Linked DNA regions of Homo sapiens: region 1 is linked to region 2. The links are contacts of gene promoters, found by promoter capture Hi-C in blood cells and fetal thymus (Javierre and others, 2016). All regions are on one chromosome and are shown on one strand. The core of a region is centred on a gene start or on the middle of the fragment in contact, and the rest is flanking DNA. Distances in the headings are between cores, read along the strand shown.

Evidence for each region. The method cuts DNA at HindIII sites, captures the fragments that hold promoters and counts their contacts. A CHiCAGO score of 5 or more calls a contact.
Region 1: a contact is called between the fragment with the promoter of PARD3B here and the fragment with the promoter of NRP2 in region 2, in 4 of 17 cell types (total CD4 T cells, endothelial precursors, non-activated CD4 T cells and 1 more). The highest score is 6.3, in total CD4 T cells.

What each region holds. Positions count from the first base shown.
Region 1 is chr2:204,544,094-204,548,088 of GRCh38, forward strand. It overlaps PARD3B (par-3 family cell polarity regulator beta), which reads left to right and starts at 1,382. Exons shown (of 23, transcript NM_001302769.2): 1 at 1,382-2,026. The coding sequence starts at 1,907. RefSeq lists a silencer at 1,369-1,418. The HindIII fragment of the contact is 7,233 bases long and covers 1-3,690 here.
Region 2 is chr2:205,680,888-205,685,003 of GRCh38, forward strand. NRP2 (neuropilin 2) reads left to right here and starts at 1,614. Exons shown (of 17, transcript NM_003872.3): 1 at 1,614-2,476. The coding sequence starts at 2,404. RefSeq lists a silencer at 1,015-1,134 and an enhancer at 3,609-4,116. The HindIII fragment of the contact is 6,030 bases long and covers 1-3,702 here.

The DNA.
Region 1 (3,995 bases), core at 132-2,631, 1.1 Mb before region 2:
GAACAGATAGAGCTAAGAGCTGGACAGAGCTAGCTGGCCCCTGAGGACATAGTTTGAGTTCCTGCTTTCAACCTTGCCTCAATGGAGTGCCCTCTGGATCTTCTGATTTTATGAGGTGATCAATTCTGTCTTTGGTTTATTTAAATGTAAATTAGTTTGTATTGGATTTACAACCAAATTACAATGGACTTGGTTTACGTGATCCTCTTGGTTTGCCACTGACTTTCTATACATAGAAGACAACCAATATATACTTACTGAATGTATGAATGAGCTAAAATTTATTTTTTTAAAAAACCTCTTGAAACCCATGAATTTAATCTCCTCTGCATTATCATACCATCCTAGGCAATTCACGTTCAATTTAAGTGTGTCCACATAGGAGCACATCCTTCTGTAGAGAAACACATGATGCAGCCCTGAGGGTCTTGCTGGATGAACTGGATGGCTAAGAAAACTGCAGGGAGAGACCAGAGATTGAGCTCAGAAGACCTGAGTTCTTTTCAACAGAACTAACACCATGGTCTGCTCAGTCTCTTGACCTCTCCGAGCACCATTCTTGATGCACAAGATGCGAAGAATAATATCTACCTACCGGGTAGTTGTTAAGCTCAAAGGAGCTCATTTACATGAGAGCTAAGAATGAAACTAACGTAATTTGTTGGTTTCCCCCACATATTCCCATTTCAATTGGTGATGGATACACACCTGCCAAATCATGAGCCTAAGGGTGTTAACTTTTTTTTTTCCTAATAAAATGCACAACGGTAGTCGCATTCCAGAAGGCTATGTGTCAACACACGCGATCATATCTGGGTCTTGGGTGTGACCTTTGGCCAAATACTCAGTGTCCTCGAGGGTCTGTAAAAGGAAAAGTTTCCACTGGCGCGTTCTCTCCAAGGTTCGCTTCAGCTCTGCTATCCCAGGGCTCCTGATGGCAGCGGCACGGGCTGTGCTTAAGGCGAGTTCCTAACAGGCCCTCGGGGCACTCCTGCATCTCCGCACCCGGCAGCCTCGCCCCTTGGGTGTTTTTGGTGGGCGTGACTAGAAGCACCTGCTCCTGGGCTCCTTTTGCATCTTGCTGCAGTCCCCTCCTGTGAAGGGCGCAGCTCTGCAGTCTCCTCGCTCTTCCCTCGGGTGTTCTTTCTGAGATCCGGTTTCAATCCTCGAGCGTGTAGCCCTCAGGTCCCCTTACAACTCCCCAGAGCTCCGTGTGCATGCGTGCGAGAGGGAGAGAGCCAGGGAGAGACCCAGGTGACGAGACGAGGCTCCCGGGCTCCAGTTACTGGCCCGCAGGGCCGGGGCACGTCGTCGCCCAGCGTGCGGCGGGGCCCGGGAGCGCCGCGGCCCCTTTAAGAGCCGGGCCCAGGCCGTCGCCGGGACCGCAGGAGCCCAGAGCGCGGGCGCCGCAGAGGAGTTGGGAGCCGGCGCAAAAGTTTCCTCCCAACTCTGGCCCCGTGCGCCGCCGCCGCCGCCGCCCACTCCAGCCCCCGGCTTGGGGCCGGCCCTGCCAACGCCGCCAGGGCCAGGGCCAGGGCCAGGACCAGCGACAGGGCAGGGCCGGCAGTTTCGCTTTGGTGGGCGCGGAGCAGCCGCCTGGGCCGGGCAGGAGTAGGAGCGGGAGGAGGAGGAGGAGGAGCCGGTGCCGCGGAGCTGCCGCGTCCCGGGCCGCCGGGCACCTGGGAGGTAACCCCTTTCCGCGGCCGCCCCTCCCCGATTCCCGCCACCTGCCGCCTGGCCAGGTGGAAGGGGCGCTGCCGCGAGCCTCCGGGCCTCAGGGTGTTCCGGGGAGCGGCGCCCCGGGTCTCTGGGCCCACCCGCCCCGGGCGTCCTCCGAGAGTGGGGGCTGCGCCCGCGGGGTCAGACACCTGTTCGGCCCGGCCCGGCGTGGTCGCCGGGGGCCAGGATGAAAGTGACCGTGTGCTTCGGCAGGACGGGCATCGTGGTGCCCTGCAAGGAGGGCCAGCTGCGCGTCGGCGAGCTCACCCAGCAGGCGCTGCAGCGGTACCTGAAGACCCGGGAGAAGGTGAGCGCGGCGCGGAGGAGTGGGGCGCGGCTGCAGCCAAGGCACCTGCCAGGTGCGACCCGGTGGCGACACTCAGGGGATGCAGAAAACCCAGGGGATTATGGGGCACTGCCTGTAGCTGCAGCTGTTGTCTATTGCTAATATCAGTGATGTGGGTGTCTTTGGGTGTTTGTGGGCCTTGAGCTCCGAGGGTCGTGAGTGGACCTGCAGCATTGGAATCTCTTGGGAGCTTCTTAGAACTGCCCAATATGGGCAGTTCTCCAAACCCACCGACTCAGGATCTGCTCTTTAACGAGATCCCCAGGTGATTGGAATGCCCACTGAAGTTTGAGAACCACTGGTTTAGAACTTGTTTGAGGGAACGTCTTAAAAGGTGCTGCTCACCTAAGTGTGATTTTTGACCCATTAAGGCCCGCCTCACTTAGGCTCCTTGGAGTTAGAAAGTTGATTGTGCAAGTGACACATACTCGGAAGTTACAACTGATGGGGCCTTTGGAGTTTCAGCCTTGTGAGCTGCCCTGTCTCAGTGACTTGGGCAGGAACACAGGTGGGAGCATGCTGTTTGCTTAGCCAACCTGTCTACATTTTGAGTGTTTTCAGTTTAATGTCACAGATTCTATGACCATTTACTATGTGTGTGGGCTGTTGTCAGGTCCTGAGTGACTATTAAAATGAGAAAGACGTTCCTAGCTCTGTAGCTGAAGTCAGGAACAAGTATAAATTAAGTGACAATTTTTTTTAAGTGTGCAATACATGTTGAGAAAATATCTGGCACTAGAACTTATGCCAAGTATTTGGGTAACATTGGGCCTCTGGGACTTCCTCAGTGAAACTTTTAAAGGAAGGCATTGAATAACCTTTTAATTTTTTGAATCTTCACATGGAACATTTTGTATGTCCCAAATGCTCCTCAAACAGGGCAAGTCACAAATTCTTGTTTTAGCGGCCAATGGTTCTCTTAATATTTGGTCTCGTGCCATGTGACTAAAATAGTGGGTTGGTCAATCTAGTGATGGAAAAACGTAAGTTTTAATTTCTTTTAACTTCTTATCGGTTATCCAAAGCATAAAAGTAATTGTTTCTTACAAGTGTATAGCTTAGGGGTTTAAGAAAATACTTGCACCTTCTTTGCCTCCATGAAGAATTATTATACAGAAAAAAAATTCAGCTCTGGACAGATACATGTGCATATTGCTTTGGATACTCAAGAACTGGAGGAGAGTACAATGAAAGGTCTATTAATATATTAAATATAACCCCTAAAGATGAACTCTTTACTGATGGAATTGAGGTGGAGGAGGGAAAAAATTAAAGTGGTTTATAAAGCTGTGTGAAAATCAACTGCAATGTTATGTGTGTGTGTGCACGTGCATATGTGTTTGCCATTGTTAAAATAGTGTTTGCTGTTTAAATCATGTAATTCAGTTAACTGATGTTTAAACAAGTAACCAATTGTCTATTAAATCATATTTCACTAACTTTTGAAAGTGAGCTAAGATTAATAGTAACAACATTACTCCAGACAGATTATTGAAATAGATCTCATTGAGGGATTGTCTTACCAAATTGAAGTTACTTTTTAACTATTAAATAATTTATGCCCTCAAATCTTGTATATTTAGAAGTTTAGTACAGGGGGCTATCCAAGTAAGAGATAAACTACAAGCTTGTAAATAACATGAAGAGAACTAACCAGCTGATATTTAATTCACTATAATTTGATCTTAAAAGGTGTTAAAATATTGACATTCTGGAATGGAAACGTAACTTATAATATCACAGAACAATGTAGTTGCATTGATCAGTTTACTATTATTACCAGACTTATATTTTTCTGTTTACATTTATATATTAGTGAATGTGACATTTAAAGGTCACCTGCAGCATATAAATCCTTCCTCTTATTTTCACTTTTAAAATTTCATTTTAAGAAGTAGTAGGTGATGATTTTTCCCCTCCCCAAGTATTC
Region 2 (4,116 bases), core at 364-2,863:
AAGAGGAAGGAGGGAGGCAAAGAGGGAATGAAAGGTAGCATTTAGGCTAGCCAAGAGACATGCTCCCTGGAAGAACTCAGAGGCCTCTGTGCTGTGCCTTTCCCAACCAGGCATCTGAGATTAACAGTGTGATACTCAGCCTGTGGATTTCCACTCTAAAATCCCGCGCCACCCCCCAACACAGCTTGGCTCAACTATTTGCAAATCACTTCTGATTCAATTTTGTTTTGGTTATCTCAGTGTAAATAACAGTTAAGTGGGAGTTACAGATTTTTCAAACACTAAAAGTGATAAAGCTAATGGGCAAGTCCAGATAAGGAGGGAAACCACCCAGAAGAATCCACAAGTACAAGCCAAGAAGAAAATGGGTAGTCAGGTGTGTGTTTCTCGTCACCGAAACTGTATTTTTCTTAATCTACAGAAAATTTTACTTTCTTAATTTAAAAAAAATCTTAATCTGTAAATATTTTTCTGAATTTTCTTATTTTTCATATACCTCTTTTGTGGCAGAAAAGGTGTACATGTGCAGGGTGTAATTTAGGCTGTTTCTGTTGCAGTCTTTATGATAATGTAGTAATAGGTGTCTGGTGAAGCAAGACAGTTTGGAATCCACAAAGCCATCCTCAGAAACAAAGATACAAGTGTTTCCCCAACTGTTAGCTTGCAGTTCCCTCTAAACAGTTTTCACGCCTCCATTTAAAAATAGTTGGCATAATGATGTTTTCTTTCTCTAGGCTTTGTGACCACGTTTCCATGGGGGAAAATGTGAATAGACGTAGTTACAGTAGCATTTGGATGAGACGCCTTCAAGCACCTATACTTTTTCGGGGGAACTTGATGGAATCCAATTTAATTACCTGAAGAAATTATTTGCTGAAGAAAGTCTTTCCTCTTTTTAGGGTAGTTACAGTTAAAGGCGCAGGGGTAACGAAATCCTAACCCAGAGAGGAGCAGAGCATGTTTGGGACATAACAAAGGATCTGAGTAGTAAACGCAGCGAGTGTTTGGGGTTTTATTCAGACCGGGCTGACGGTGTGTGTCGCCGCCACGCACCGCTGCCTGTTCGAACGCATGGCTGAGCTGCCGACCGGCTCGCTACCCCAAACACCGTACGCCACCCAACTCCTCTTGTAACGCCATCGCGCGTGGCATTGTGTTGGGTTCTGCGTGTGTGGCATCGGAGTCGTGGAATTTAGGGGGAACAAGGCTTTTCCCCCCGTCCCCCCGGGGTCTCCCTTGGGTGGGGGCGACACGGCCAAGGCGGCGCGCCCTGGGGGTGCCCGGGGGCGCTTCTTCCCCAGGGCGTTACGCACCGGCGGCCCGGCGCGGAGGTGCGCGGGGGCGATCGGGAGATGCGGGGCGGGCGAGGGGTGGTGGGATGGGCGCCGCCTTAACTTCGATCCTGCGGCGGCCCGAGAGAAGCCGTCGCCGCCCCGCCCGAGCTGGGTGCCGCGGCACTCTGCTCTGCGCCGCGCGTCTCCGCGGCTGCCTCTTTAATCAGGAACACAGAAGGGGCGGGCCCTGAGCCGGCGCGTAATCGGATAGCTCTGCCGCGGCTCTGACATCCACATGCTGCTCGGCCTGAAAAGGCAGTGGGGAGCCGGAGGGGAGGCAGAGATCGCGAGCGAGGCACCAGCCTGCAGCCGGCCCCCAGCACATCCTCAGCCGCACAGACACTCGGCGAGGTGGAGGTGAGGGCGGGCGCCAGCGAACTCGGAGAGGGGCTCGCTCACTCCCAGGCGATCCCAGCCGCCACCGCCGCCGCACCAGCAGCAGCAACAGCAGCAGCAGCTTCCTTCCTCAGACTCCCCTCGAGAGGCTGGCCAAGCGGGTGTAGCCGTTGGGGGAGGCTCCCGCCGGGGGAACCCGGCGAGGACAAGAGCAGGGCGGCCGCCTTCCACTCGGGCTGTCCGGCGGCGGCTGCCTCCGCCCGTGTGTCCGTCAAGGGTGCCGCGGGATGTGTGTCAGTTTACGCCTCTGAGATCACACAGCTGCCTGGGGGCCGTGTGATGCCCAAGGCAAGTCTTGGTTTTAATTATTATTATTATCATTATTGTTACGCTTGGCTTTCGGGAAATACTCGTGATATTTGTAGGATAAAGGAAATGACACTTTGAGGAACTGGAGAGAACATATATGCGTTTTGTTTTTAAGAGGAAAACCGTGTTCTCTTCCCGGCTTGTTCCCTCTTTGCTGATTTCAGGAGCTACTCTCCTCCTGGTGAGGTGGAAATTCCAGCAAGAATAGAGGTGAAGACAAGCCACCAGGACTCAGGAGGGAAACGCTGACCATTAGAAACCTCTGCATAAGACGTTGTAAGGAGGAAAATAAAAGAGAGAAAAACACAAAGATTTAAACAAGAAACCTACGAACCCAGCTCTGGAAAGAGCCACCTTCTCCAAAATGGATATGTTTCCTCTCACCTGGGTTTTCTTAGCCCTCTACTTTTCAAGACACCAAGTGAGAGGCCAACCAGGTAAGCCACTGAAAGTTTTTCTATTTATTGCAACATGGTTTCCCCTTTAAAAGTGACCGCTAAAGCAGGAAGGCCACGCAGAACGGCACAGAAGAAGGCTCCCTCAGTACTCAATAATTTAAAGAGAGATCCCAGCCGGCCCTTCCTACACCACCACGGCTGCTAAAACCCAACTTTCCTCTCCTGCTAGGAGTGTGTGTGTGTGTGTGTGTGTGTGTGTGTGAGTGTGTTTTGAAACAGAATTTGGCGGTGTTCATATGTCACATATGGACTGAATCAAAGGTTTAAAAATACTACAAAGCCTTTGCATTACAGTTTTTGGGAATTTTTTTTCCCTGTCTTGAAGCAGAACACATCTCCCTTGAGTTTCTCCAACTAGCCAGTGAAATATAAATCATTTGCATTCCCTCCACTTAGCTACATTGAGCAATGTTAACTGAAGGGCTTGGGAAAGACAAGAGTTTAGTTTTGGTTTTCAGATGCTGTAGATTCTTTGGAGAATGACTGGTTATGCTTCAGAATCATAAGGCTCAGGCTGGTGGAGCAAGTTGGCTTGTGGCTGAGATAGGGGCTTGGGGTTGGGTGCTGCTGGCAACCAAGACGGTTGGTCTCTTCTCTCTTCATCCATGTGTTGTCTGGGAAAGTAAATCGTACGTTCTTTTAGAAATTATTATTAGCTAAAACAAATTGCAGGCCCTCGAAGGTCTCTCACTCTTGTGAAGTGGTTAGAAACTTTTGAGTGGAATTTGTTCTCAACCACTGCCAAAAAGGGTGTGTGGACAGGCTGCTGTGGAGATAAGCATTTCGAGGCCCAGAACAGTCTGGGGACCGCATTTGTGGGGAGCGGCAAGGGGTATGCTCTGGAAAGGGGAATCCATGGGGAATGCAGTGGGGTTTGTGCTTCCTTCTCGGACCACTCTCTAGAGTGAGCCTCCCTACCCCTCTGAGAACAGTGTCTGGAATCTAACAACAAAACTCTTAGCAGCTGCTACAGGTGATTGGAGATGGAGAAACCATCTATGGAGGAAATGGGTGAAAGAAAGGCGAAAAAGCCTTCCTGAAGTGCCCTCACCCAAGGCACTTGCAAGGCGATGGCGGCAGTGGTAGAGCTAACTCTGCAGCCTCCTTGGCATCCCCAGAACATCAGCTAGTGGATCCTAGCCTTGCATCTGGTACTGTCACCCTTCCTTCTCCTCACGCCCCCCACCAGCACACACACCACTTTAAGCTTGGGCATTTATTTGAGGGGGGAAGAAAATTCAGGAATGCCTTTGCCACCCAGATCCGCACGTTTGCAGCTCTTTCTTTGCCATAAGTGGTCTTCAGGGCAGCTGCAAATCCTGCCAAAGGGATGGGTGGGGGTCCCACTTGGGGAGATTTTCTGGGCCTCCGCCGTTCCCCCTTGCCTTATTTCTAAATTCCCAGCTTGAAGCGGAATTAAATTACCACTCACAGACCTGGATGCTGCGTAAATTATGTATGTTTGTGTGATTCGCTGTGTGTGTGTGCACACGCGCGCGCGCCGTGAGGATGCCCACAGTATATTATGTATTCAGACACGGACTCCAGTAGGCCCCAGCGCGCGAGCGCGCACACACTGGCACTCACACTGGCGCGCACACACATGCAACTTCAGGTTC